5 separate regions of the Homo sapiens genome follow, and all the other regions are linked to region 1. The links are contacts of gene promoters, found by promoter capture Hi-C in blood cells and fetal thymus (Javierre and others, 2016). All regions are on one chromosome and are shown on one strand. The core of a region is centred on a gene start or on the middle of the fragment in contact, and the rest is flanking DNA. Distances in the headings are between cores, read along the strand shown. Region 1 holds the start of VNN1 (vanin 1). Region 2 overlaps STX7 (syntaxin 7). Region 3 overlaps STX7 (syntaxin 7). Region 4 has its middle 11 kb from the start of STX7. Region 5 has its middle 5.1 kb from the start of TAAR9.

Region 1 (2,519 bases), core at 10-2,509:
AAAAAGAACATCAGAACTCCTGATAACCTTTTAAATATTAGTATATATAAGAATATAGGGCAGTCACGGTAGCTCATGCCTGTAATCCCAGCACTTTGGGAGCCCAAGGCAGGTGGATCACCTGAGGTCAGGAGTTCAAGTACAGCGTGGGCAACATGGCAAAATCCCATCTCTACAAAAAATACAAAACTTAGCTGGGCACGGTGGCATGCATCTGTGGTCCCAGCTACTCTGGAGACTGTAGTGGGAGAATCACCTGAGCCCGGGAAGTCAAGGCTGCAGTGAGACGTGATCACACCACTATACTCCATCCTGGGTGACAGAGTGAGACCTTAACTCAACAACACAAAAGAATATATATTTATAGATATATGTAATACACATTTATCCATGACTTTTATCACACTTCATGTATTCCTGGTCTACACCTAATCGATCAATAGCTTTTAAAATAATATTTGTGTAAACCACAATTTATACTGTATGATTAACTTCAAACTGAAACCTTCACTAAACTTAAGGACTCACAATGCATTACATATACTTTTATCTTGTAATTAGAATGAAGTGTGAAGTATATAATGCATGCTGGCAAGGAATTGAAAACTTAAATTTGTTTTCAGATTATAAATTTATTCGAAAACCTGCAAAGCCTTAATAGCACATGAGTACATGAAGGCCACTAATACTCTGAAAATAGCACCTAGTCCCTGACCCATTTATCCTCCATCCTCCATCTGTACCAGAAAAGGGGAACAAAGATGTTGAATTTATGGCCAGTTCCTCAAAGGTCTGCTGCTTCTTGATAATGAGCAAATTGTTCTTTTCTTAACTTTGTTCTTACTTTTAGGGAAGTCCTTGCTCTAATTTTGAGAGGAAAGTAGAATTCTAACTGTAAAATAAAGGTTCTTGGCTACTCTGATACATATATCATCTAAAAGTGTAACTGACCCTGACAGTGGCCCTGTCTCCTAGGACCCCCTCCTTTCTCATAGAATCCAGTACACTGGAGAGATGGTAGAGATGGTACCTGATCTGCTGCTGATGTGATCGCTCCTTCCAAAATGTCCAGATTCCGATTCATTAATGCCAAAGCCTCCTCACGAGACACTGGTGTTAGGGTGGCATTGGGCAATATCGCTGCATGCTCATAAACAGCTGCAGTGAAAGTGTCCTGGCAGCTGGCTCTTGAGACATAGAAAAGCAAAATTGCCACGTAAGCTGGCAACTGAGTAGTCATGCTGAAGTCCAATGAGTGCTGAAAAACAGAGCATGTCCTGGTATTTATAGAAAGAAGACACGTGGTGTCCAGAACTTAGTACCTTAAACTACGGAAGTTAATTAAGAAAACGCTATGATTTCATAGCATTGTTACATAACAAAAGACCCTACCTTATTGCAGTAATTTGTGAAGATTAACTCAAGAACTCTATGTACATTAGTTCGCTAGGGCTGCCTAACAAAATACAATAAACTGGGTGGTGTAAAAAATAAAAAATTTATTGCTTTGCAGTTCTGGAGGGTGGGAGTCCCAGATGAAGGTGTCAGCAGAGTTGGTTCCTCCTGAGGGCGGTGAAGGAAAGATGTGTTCCAGGCCTCTCTCCTTGACCCATAGATGGCTGCCTTCTCCCTGTGTCTCTTCATATGCTATTCTCCCCATGTGTGTGCCTGTATCCAAGTTTTCCCTTTTTGTGAGGACACCACTCTAATCTTTAACACAGGGAAAGGGAAAATCCCAGCTCTAGCTTTTTTTGTCATCGTTGTTGTTTGTTTATTGTTGTTGTTGTTTGAGATGGAGTTTCACTCTTGTCACCCAGGCTAGAGTGCAGTGGCGAAATCTCGGCTCACTGCAACCTCCGCCTCTCGGGTTCATGTGATTCTCCTGCCTCAGCCTCCCAAGTAGCTGGGATTACAGGCGCCCGCCACCACGCCAGGCTAATTTTTTGTATTTTTAGTAGAGATAGGGTTTCGCCGTGTTGGGCAGGCTGGTCTCAAATTGCTGACCTCAGGTGATCCACCTGCTTTGTTTTTATGCCAAATAAGGGCAGAAGAAAAAAGCCAACTGAAGGTCATAAACCCAGGGGTACAGGCTCACTGAAAGACTGAGACTCAATCATAGGACCAATTCGATTTAGTGCCCACTGTACTCCAGTATAACTTCATCTTAACTAATTAGATCTGAAATGACCCCTTTTCCAAAAAAGTTACATTCTAAGATACTGACAGTTAGGACTTCAACATATAAATTTTTGGAATTCATATATTTTGGAATGTCAACACAAGACATTCAAATAATTTTAAAACTTTATTATTATTTTCATGTGAATATTTCAGCTCTACACTTTGATTTACTTTATTTTCCTCAAAATGGGGAAGCCAGGACAAAGAGGAATACAAAAGAGTTACTCATTTTCTATTGCTATATAACAAATTATCCCCAAATTCAGCAGCTTCAAAAAGCAAAAATACATCATCTCCCACTTTCTCTGGGTCAGGAATCCAGGGGCAGTTTAGCTGGT
Region 2 (2,519 bases), core at 12-2,511, 240 kb before region 1:
TAACTGGAAAAAAGAATAACTAAATGGTTTACTTAAATCTAATTAGTAACAAAAATTTTCAAGAGGAAATTGTGTGAGAATGTTAACTTGTGAAAATGCACTTATGACCCAAAAATACTATCTTCTTCCTTATCCCATCAGGATATTATTAAGTAAATACAAGGGCACACAGACTTTAACACTACTAGCATAAAAATTGTGAGGAAATAAGTAACAATTACATATTTCATTAGAATATAATATAAATAAGTTATTGTTAATAAATGAGAGGAATAGAATTACAAAAAATCATTTTTCAATTATCCATGTAATAACTGATTTCAGCAAGGTCATCAAAAAATGCTAAAATCACAGGACATTCATACAACTTAAATTACCACCACACAGATGACATTAATTACAAAAGATATAACTTTATCATATATAAATCTGTTGTCTGAAAACAAATGACCAAATTTAGCAGTGAGAATGGAAAAAACTGACATTATGAACCTTGTGGCATGCTGCAGCGAGAAAGCCACAATATGATCTGAGGATTTTTCTTGCCAAAATATTTAACATGAATCTAATCACAAAAAGAAATTAGACCAGTCTAGACTGTGGGACAATCTACGAGATAACTTGCCTGGGCATTTAAAGACGTCAATGTCACAAAAGGGAAAAAAAAAGTTGACAAAGACAGAGGTGCTTTCTAAATTAAGGAATTAAAATACCCAAAAGACACTGTATGATTTTTGACTGGATTCTGAATCAGGAAAAAAGCAAGCACTATAAAGAAAATCATAGGGACAACTGGAGAAATTTGAATACAGAAAGTAAAAAACACATTAAACAAAAGTTGAAAAATGCCCACAACTGGCAAATCCAGGTGAAAGGTTCATTGTACTATATACTTATATATATATTTTGTGAGGTTTAGAAAAGATTTTAAAATAAAAAGTCCAGGGCTTAAAAGTCATGTTAAACTCACAATCCGGAAGTCTATGACTATTGCAATTTTTTTAAAAAAGGCTCTACACAAAAGGGGAGGACCTACAGTTTTATGTATGTGGGGACATAAATAAAATGTCATGGTACATAAATAAAACGTCAAGTAGAAATAAGCTGAAAATCCAAAGAACTCTTAACAATCTAACCCCCTCATTCTTTTTATTTAAATGAGTGGTTTACTTATATAGCTTAAATGCTTTAAAACTATTCATTATTTACATGCTCAAGGGAATGATAAAGTATTACAAAATGCAGGATAATTTTGGTCACCGCGAATGATGTAATAAATACTGCTTTTAAGTGAAAGCTGAAAAACAGAAACACTAGAGAAGAATCAAAGCATATAGCAACTCTTAGCATTTGGCTAATTTAATAGGAATTTATTTTTGCTTTTTGGGGGTTGATTTTTCCTTTCATAAGACAAACAAATTTTGTTTGCCGTGTTTAACTTATGGCTGCTTATAATTAGCTATATATTCCCTCTCAACCTCAACAGATTTTCTTGAACTGCCTTATAGGGGCTTTATTTTCTTAAGCGTATTGATAATACAAACTGTAGTATGGGCATCGATAGACTATTGGCAGGTATTTATCTCAACTCTAAAGTGTTATTGTTCTTTAGGAAAAAATCATAGCAAGTGAGAAAAAATAAATTATTTAATAAATGACACCAGGAAAACTGACTAACCATTTGGGCAGGGGAGAAAGAACCCTACCTCCCAGCATATAGCAAAATACATTTTTAATAAACCATTAATTTAAATAGTAAAATTGAAAATATTAAACTGCTCTAAGAAATATAAATGTTTTTATTATATGATCTTATACATGATCTTGGAGTAAGAGATATAAAATATTAGCTAAGCATGACACAAAACTAAAATCCACAGAGGAAAATATTGACAAATTTGACTACATAAAATAACTTGGTTAAATGTTATACAAAAAATGTGTACATATATCACAAGTATATATGTAAGTGTGTGTTCATATACACACAGGAGACAGTAACTGCAGGTTATGATGAGGAAAGAGGTTAAACTACAATGGTAATTATTTTTGGTAACAGAACAACAGCCCAGTAAAAAATGGACAAAGGTTATAATCTTGCAATTTACAAAAGGCAAATGTGTACATAACAAAACTTCAACTTCACTGATAATTAAACTTTTATGTTTCTGATTGGTAAAAATTATGAAAAGCAGTTGAGAATATAATTACAATCAAAGGCCTTAAAAACAAAAGGTAAAGACTACATAATATATAAGAAAGAGGGAGCAATAGTCAATAACTATAAATAATTTAGAAAATGTCAGACAATCCAGTAGAAAAATGGGCCAAGACACGTGTATATCTATATAACAAACATGCACGTTCTGTACATGTATCCCAGAACTTAAAGTATAATAAAAAAAAAGAAAAATGGGCCAAGAATAGGAACTTTAATATTCATGAATAAACTGAATAGCAAAAAAAGGACCGAAATGCATATCAATTTTGCAAAGTACAAACAAGTACACCACATGAAT
Region 3 (2,519 bases), core at 10-2,509, 210 kb before region 1:
GTATCTACCCAAAAGAAAAAAAAAACCATTATACCAAAAAGATAATCTGCACTCATATGTCTATTGTAGCAATATTCACAAGAACAAAGATTTGGAATTAACCTAAGTGCCCATCAAGTGTCTATTAACATTCCTGAATGGATAAAGAAAATGTAGTGTATATAAATGCAATGGAATACTATTCAACCTTAAAAAAGACTGAAGTTATGTCTTTCACAGCAACACAGATGAACTGGAGGCCATTATCTTAAGTGAAATGACTCAGAAAAAAGTCAAATGCTGCATGTTCTCACTTGTAAGTGGAACCTAAATAATGTGTACACATGGACAGAGAGTGGAATAAGAAGACATTGGAGACTCAAAAGGATGGGAGGGTGAGGGATGAGAAATTACTTAATGCGTACAATGTACATTATTCAGGTGATGATTACACTAAAAGCCCAGACTTCACGCTATGCAATATAACCATGTAACAAAACTGCATGTGCACCCCTTAAATTTATATAAATAAAATGGCTTTATTGAGATATAATTTATTGAGATATGGCAATACAATACACCTACTTGAAGTACACAAGCCAATGGTTTTTAATATATTTACAACATTGTACAATCATCACTTTTAGAACATTTCTATTACGCTAAAAGGAAAGTTTGTAATCATTAGCAATCGCTCTCCATTTCTCCCCAACCTCACTGGCCAAAGGTGACTACTAATCTACTTTGTATCTTTATAGCTTTGCTATTCTGGACATTTCATAGGAATGGAATCATACAATGTGTTCTTCGAGACTAGCTTCTTTCTCTTAGTATGCTTCCAAAGTCCATCTGTGCTGTATCATATATCAGTCCTTCATTCCTTCATTATTGCCAAATAATATTCCTTCATTATTGCCAAATAATATTCCAAGGTATGGAGAAAGACAATTTTCTCTTGGTTCAATGACATCTTCCTTTCTCCTTTCCCTCTATCAAGTAGATCTCTGGAAAAACTGGCTTACAAGCCAAAACAAACACATTGAATGAAAAAATGTTCAGTTTGTTATTCATGTAATCTCTGGGGATGCTCCTCCATATACATGGTTCCATTTTAATCTATACCTGAATGAGTCGCACATCCATGTCTCCAGCTCGTACCCTTGGCTTTCTCTCGTGTCTACATGTCTGTGAAGCTACAAGAACTCAGCCATTGCCTGTGCGGCACACCATGGAAGTAGCAACTGGAAATTTCTACTTTGGGCAAGACACTTAGCATTTGGGCCCACTGCCAGAATCAAAATGAGATAATGCACATCCAGAGAACAAATGCTTTTCCACCCTACACAGAGGAAAGTTATGATCTGTTCTTGCAGCTGCAGGACCAGCATCAGCACAAGACCAAGAGAAACTCATCACCTGTCTCAAAACCATGCAAGCACACCTGAGGCCTACTCTCTCTCCCATAAAGAGTTCCATCAAGTCAAGGACAGTATTCTACAGCATTTTCCTTACCCTTAAAACTCACACCAGTGTAGCCCAAGTCTTCTCACTGTTTTCTTTCAAGGCCACCTTTTTTCCTCTCTGGAAAATCAATCACTTAGTCACAAACACAATCAATTTTCTTCATCCCTTTCCTCAAGCTACTAAATGTGAGAAAGTTCCTGCTGGTGAGACAATTGGCAAGTGGCTTCATTCACCCAAAGAGGTGCTACTTAGATTGACTGGAATTATGAGTTTTGTTTTACTTTTTCTTTGTTTGGCGTTGTTGTTGTTTGAGACAGGAGCACCCAGGCTGGAGTGCAGTGGTGTGATTACGACTCACTGCAGCCCTGACTTCCAGGCTCAGGCAATCCTCCCATCTCAGCATCCCGAGTAGCTGGGTCCACAGGCACCTGCCACCACATCCCACTAATTTTTTGATTTTTTTATAGAGATGGGGGTCTCACTTTGTTGCCCAGACTGGTCTTGAACTCCTGGGCTCATGCGATCCTCCAGTCTCAGCCTCCCAAAGTGCTGGGATTACAGGTTTGAGCCACTGTATCTAGCCAGGAATCATGTGTGAAGAATGAAAAGCAATTTGCAAAAGATAGAGAAGAAAGATGTGTAAAATAAAACAAAGTTAACAATGGCCAACACTCATCCAGGACTTACATTTCCTAAGCATTGTGCTTATGACTTTTAAATTTATTTTCTCAGTTAATTCTTATAAGCCTATCATGTGGGTATAATTGCTAATGTGATTTTTTTACATGAAGAAACTGAGGCATATCATTATGCCTCATTATCATTATAAGCAAAGGAGCAAATATTTGAAAATAACCACAGAGCCGACATTTTTTAAACACTAAGCCATACTGCTTCCTTGTATAACAAAATTGAGGGCAGGTGAACTCAGTTAGAAAAACCAAATTTGGGCTGGGCGCGGTGGCTCACGCCTGTAATCCCGGAACTTTGGAAGGCCAAGACAGGCAGATGACAAGGTCAAGAGATTGAGACCATCCTGGCCAACATGGTGAAATCTCATCTCTACTAAAAAAATT
Region 4 (2,519 bases), core at 9-2,508, 190 kb before region 1:
GTATTTCATGTACACTACAAAAGAAAGAGTAATATTGCTGTTGGGTGGAATATTTTATAAGTGTAAATTAGTTCAAGTTAGTTGGTAGTGTTTGGGGGATTTTGCTGATATTCTCCCTACTTATTTCATCAATTACTAAGAGAGGAGGGTTGAAGTCTCCAACTAGAACTGTAAATTTCTCTACTTTTTCTTTCATATCTTTCAGGATTTTCCCTATGTGTTTTGAAGTTCTGTTGTTATATGTAAACACTTTTAGGATTGTTATGTCTTCCTGATGAATTGACCCCTTTATTATTATATAGTACCCCTCTTTATCTCTAATAATAATCCTTATCTTGACATCTATTTTGTTTGAAGTTATTGTAGCTACTTCAGATTTCATTTGATTCAGTTTGATATGATCTATCTTCATCTTTTTATGTTTGTCCTATCCATGCCTTTACATTACAAGTGAGTATTTTGTAGACAGCAGAGTTGTGTCTTGTTTTTTTATTCTGTTTTAAATTCTTTGTCTTTCAACTAGTATGTATAGATCATTTAAATTTAAGGTTATTGACAATTTGAATTAAAATCTACCATCTCTCTAGCTGTTGTCTGTTCTATTTTTATTTTTCCTCTTTTTCTTTCTTTCCTGGGTTTTATCAGGAATTTTTAAATGATTCTATTTTATCTTCTCTATTGACTTATTATGTGTATTCCTCCTAAAAATTATTTTTACCTCTTTAAAAAATTAACCTAAATCTACTTTCAAATGAGGTATTTGCAAGGACATTATAACAGTATATTCCCAAATCCTTCTTCTCATTTCTTCTGCTATTGTTATACAGAAAACAATATTGTATGGTTTTGTATGTATGTAGAGTATTGTTATACTCTCAAAGTCATTCATCTTTTAGAGTAACTTAAAATAAGAGAAAAAAATTTTATTTTACCTTTACATATTCCATTTCTAAATCTCTTCAGTTCTTTGTGTAGAGCCAGGTCTATGACCTGTATCATATTCCTTCTATCCAAATAATTGTTTTTCTACTTTGAGTGAAAAGGGCAAGAAAAGCAAGAACCTTAAAGAAGATGATTTGTATTTATGGCACAAACATTTACAATGTCTTATTAAAATCATAAACAAAGTGAAAGAGAATGACAAATGAAGAGAAAATGCCTGCAAGCTCTAATACAAATGTTTTACATCCTGTTATAAAGTATAAGATAGACAAACCTCCTGTGGTAGATGTTATTGACACCTCAGCCAGGTTCTCTTTGACTGCCTCAGTAACCAATCCATAGTTGCTGTGAGTAATCAGCTAAGCACCAATCACAGCTACCTTCTACTCTAGAAAATTGCCCTTGGCCCAAGGGAGCTGCCCCACCCAGAGTCAATATGCGCTGACTCCCCCCAACCTCAACCAATGACAAATTGACATCAGTCCCTGGACTTACGTTGGAATTAATTCTGTGGTGCAACTTGTGCTCCAGAGCTTCCCTGTGGGATCCAACCAAAAGTCTCCAGCCAAGACCACAGTCTTTCTCAGAACATGCTGTGGAACCAACTTCTCTTACTGCCCTTCTCCTGTGAGAATTCTTTCCAAATTCTCCATTCTGAGCCCAAGTTTCTGCTTCTAGAGAAACCAAACCAAGACACCACACTAGAAAACTTAGTAAAAGCTCATAATAGACAATTCACAGAAGTCTTAGTCCAAGTGTCTTGAAAAATAGAGCCTAAGGCAAAACTTTACTTACTAAGGTTTTACAGTAATCCTACAGTAGCAAGAGCAAAGTGTTACAACAAGTTTAGCCTAAAGCTGCCTCCTTATGTATTTTAAGTTCAGCCTAAAGGTTTCTCCGTACATCGTGAACTACAAACAAGTGGAGGTACAGATCATAGCCTACACTTGTACCAATCACTGAGTTTTGGCCAAATGTAGCCAACTGTTTGAACCGTGTTCAGTTAAGGCAAATGCGGGGCTGTCACCAATCCAGCTGTTTTTGTGCTTACTCCTATCTTCTGTATGTCACTTTCCTTTTTTCTGTCCATAAATCTTCTTCCTCTATGTGGCTGCACTGGAGTCTCAGAATTTACTCTAGTTTGGGAGGCTGCCCAGTTCATGAATCTTCTTGGCTCAATCAAATTCCTTTAAATTTAATTTGGCTGAAGTTTTTCTTTTATCAGATGGCATCAGAAATTGGATCTAAAGTAGAGCTTCTAACGACCCCCATGAGCACTGCGTGACCAAGGGAGGTACCCGCTGGACCCATTGTGTCTGTTGCTCTCTCAGAGCAGCTAGAGAATATGGTTAAGTTCTCGCTCGGATTCTGAGGCTCCACAGATTTGTGTTTTGAACACTCTGAGTTTCTTTGAGCAAATTTCTGATCCAAGCTGGATTTGGAAGTCGCGACAGACACTGGACTGGGTCCAAGATCAGAATGGATCCCGTAATTAACTGGCTTGGATCCAGTTAGAGGTCTCTCACATCTGACTCAGTCAGAAAGAAACTGGTAGTAAATGGCATAATTGCAGGGGG
Region 5 (2,519 bases), core at 9-2,508, 170 kb before region 1:
TATTTTCTGCCTGTAGACAGACATATTCCTATACTTTATGAATCAAGTAATTTGATGTTTACTGACTATATTAATTTGTTATGTACTTTTCATTTGCTGCTAAGTCTTTGTTTACATTATTTCAATACCTAGCACAGTGCCTTACACTTATTAAGTTCCTAGAGATATTTTTTAAGCAAGAACAATCAATTCTTTTATATTTCTACCCATCAAATAATGATCGATTAATCTTTTATATTTAAAAACTTGGCCATTCTCTCCTTTATTTGGTTTGCTAAAATAGAAAATGCTTAATAATCAATGTTTAGGAAAAGTCCAACTTTAGTCTATTGAAAAGGTTTGTTTACCCCAATCACTAAAAGGTAATTTTTTATTTAATGAGAAAAAGTGCTAAAGCCTGTAAACTTGCAATATTGAGTTTCCTTACTTTACCTAACCTAAAGTGGAGATTCATGAAGTATATGATATCTCAGAGATTTACTGTGAGGATTGTAAATGTTAAGCTTTTTGAAAACATACACCTTCTTTTTCCTGCAAAGACTGCATACCATGCAGTATAAAGGTTCAGAGTGAGGTTGTAAAGCCACATTACTTGGGTTTAAATCTCATCTCCATCATCTGCAATCTTGGATAAGTCACTTACGCTTTGTAGATCATAGCTGCTTACCTATAAAATGGATATGATTATGGAACTTTCTTATTGAGGTTTTATGTATTAATGACCATTATGTAAAACACATCTGCAGATTTTGGAGACCAAAGAGCCAATAAGGAAACCACTATCACATAAAAATTGTTTGTGTTATGTTTTGTAAATGTTTTAACAGAAAGAAATTTATAAGGATTTTTTGAAATAGTTTCAAAACTTATATTTTTAAGATTTATTTTCTGAAATCATACAATCAAGACTGTTAACCAAAAAAGCAATGTTGGAAAAGTATTTTTTTTATTAGAAATTAGAGCTCAGGAAGAGCTCCAGAGTTCTGTTGAAAGAGCCACTTAACCGATTTGAACTCACAACATGAGCTCAAAAGTAAATTTTTCATAGAGAAGAAATTACTGTAAACTTTCCTAAGAGTTAGAGATAGTGAAAATCCAAATAAACAGTTTAAAGATTACATACACCTACACAAATAAAATGATATTTTTATAAACAGCTTGCATTGCCTTTGTATTTTGTGTGTTTTTAGAATTAGCATTTTGATTTTCTTTTCTTATTATTAATATTAATTATAGGAACTATTAATGAAGAAAAAAGCTCCAGAGAGATTATATGTTGTAAATGCTGGAGCTGGGATATTTAGATCCATGTCTGTCTATCATCAAAGCCAATGCTTTGCAAATACTATCATTGTGAATCAGTTGGAAAAAGCAACGACATTTCTTGGAAATGAAAAATTATAGACTATCTTCCCAGGTGTAACATAAGAGCTGACATTTATATTTTATTCTTATTTTATTCTGTTCAAACACACACACACACACACACACACACACACACACGTCTAATGCCAAAGGGCAAGTTTCATTATTTCCTAAGGGCAATACTAAGCTAAGCATCACAGATCACTTCAAAGATAAGAATATATAAGGTCCCTGTACTAATTCATCCTTGTTAAATTTATAAAACAGGCAAAATTCCCTGGGGAGTCCCCCAGCTACCCTGTCTCTACTTTCTCCCCTCACCTAGGAACACTCTGACATTTCAGGCTGTGTTCAAGCTGTTTGTGCTGCGTCCTTTCCCATCAGTAATATGAGCTGTTAAACAATAACTACTTGCCAAATGAATTAAATTCTTCATATGGGAGCATTAACAATAAAACATACCATTCTCAGAGGGGTTCCCTTTTAGGTTGGTAGTGGATAAAGGTACAAGAGAAATTTTAAGAGATGTTCAAAGAGTAACAGTTTGTAAAAAGAAGAAAGTAACAAGGGTGAAGTTTTAGGAAGGGAGGAGTTATTTAAATGGGACAACTTTCTGGTGTTGCTCAATTAAGACCAATTAGGCAAAACCAAAGCTTCATCTATTAGGGAGTTTGTTTTCCTCTCTTCTGTCATCTAAGGCTAAGGGAGTTTATAATGCATCTGCTGTCCGTTTTTGGCTTCCACCCACATACTGAGACAGCCCATCTGTAAACCAAGCTTGTGTTTTTCTCCTCTTTAGTTTCCTGAAGTGTGAAATGGAGGGGGTACTGCTGCAAAGGCGGTAGGTAATGGGCTCTGGGCTCATGTTGCTCACATGTTCCCACTGGCCTTGCTTGTGTTTGGTCCTACATGCATCATTTCCATTGGAGGATCCAACAAGACCTAACTCATAATAGGCAGTTACAGACACATGATAGCTTGATGTCACATGGTCAAGCGTTCCATCACTTCCTGGGCTCAGTAGCTCACCAAGAGCTATCTTTCAAAAGGTATTTATCTTCCTTACTCTAGACTCCCAGAGGACTGCACTGTGTTTCTCTCAGTGGAGCCTCCCATAAAAAATACACTGCCTCTTTTTCCACTACTAATACCTT

The links. Contacts are between HindIII fragments. The CHiCAGO score rates a contact against its expected background, and 5 or more counts as called.
Region 2: a fragment that was not itself captured here is called in contact with the fragment with the promoter of VNN1 in region 1 in 1 of 17 cell types (neutrophils); the score reaches 5.0 in neutrophils.
Region 3: a fragment that was not itself captured here is called in contact with the fragment with the promoter of VNN1 in region 1 in 1 of 17 cell types (neutrophils); the score reaches 6.9 in neutrophils.
Region 4: a contact is called between a fragment that was not itself captured here and the fragment with the promoter of VNN1 in region 1, in 1 of 17 cell types (neutrophils). The highest score is 5.1, in neutrophils.
Region 5: a contact is called between a fragment that was not itself captured here and the fragment with the promoter of VNN1 in region 1, in 1 of 17 cell types (neutrophils). The highest score is 5.1, in neutrophils.

What each region holds. Positions count from the first base shown.
Region 1 is chr6:132,712,796-132,715,314 of GRCh38, forward strand. It overlaps VNN1 (vanin 1), which reads right to left and starts at 1,260. Exons shown (of 7, transcript NM_004666.3): 1 at 1,031-1,260. The coding sequence starts at 1,240. The HindIII fragment of the contact is 10,237 bases long and covers 1-2,519 here.
Region 2 is chr6:132,475,794-132,478,312 of GRCh38, forward strand. The region is part of intron 2 of STX7 (syntaxin 7); the gene reads right to left. Among named protein-coding and RNA genes, the nearest start is that of STX7, 36 kb to the right of the region's middle. The HindIII fragment of the contact is 3,236 bases long and covers 1-2,519 here.
Region 3 is chr6:132,506,786-132,509,304 of GRCh38, forward strand. All of the region lies in intron 1 of STX7 (syntaxin 7), which reads right to left. Among named protein-coding and RNA genes, the nearest start is that of STX7, 5.1 kb to the right of the region's middle. The HindIII fragment of the contact is 3,553 bases long and covers 1-2,519 here.
Region 4 is chr6:132,522,790-132,525,308 of GRCh38, forward strand. No RefSeq gene overlaps it. Among named protein-coding and RNA genes, the nearest start is that of STX7, 11 kb to the left of the region's middle. The HindIII fragment of the contact is 3,210 bases long and covers 1-2,519 here.
Region 5 is chr6:132,542,133-132,544,651 of GRCh38, forward strand. No RefSeq gene overlaps it. Among named protein-coding and RNA genes, the nearest start is that of TAAR9, 5.1 kb to the left of the region's middle. The HindIII fragment of the contact is 1,515 bases long and covers 502-2,016 here.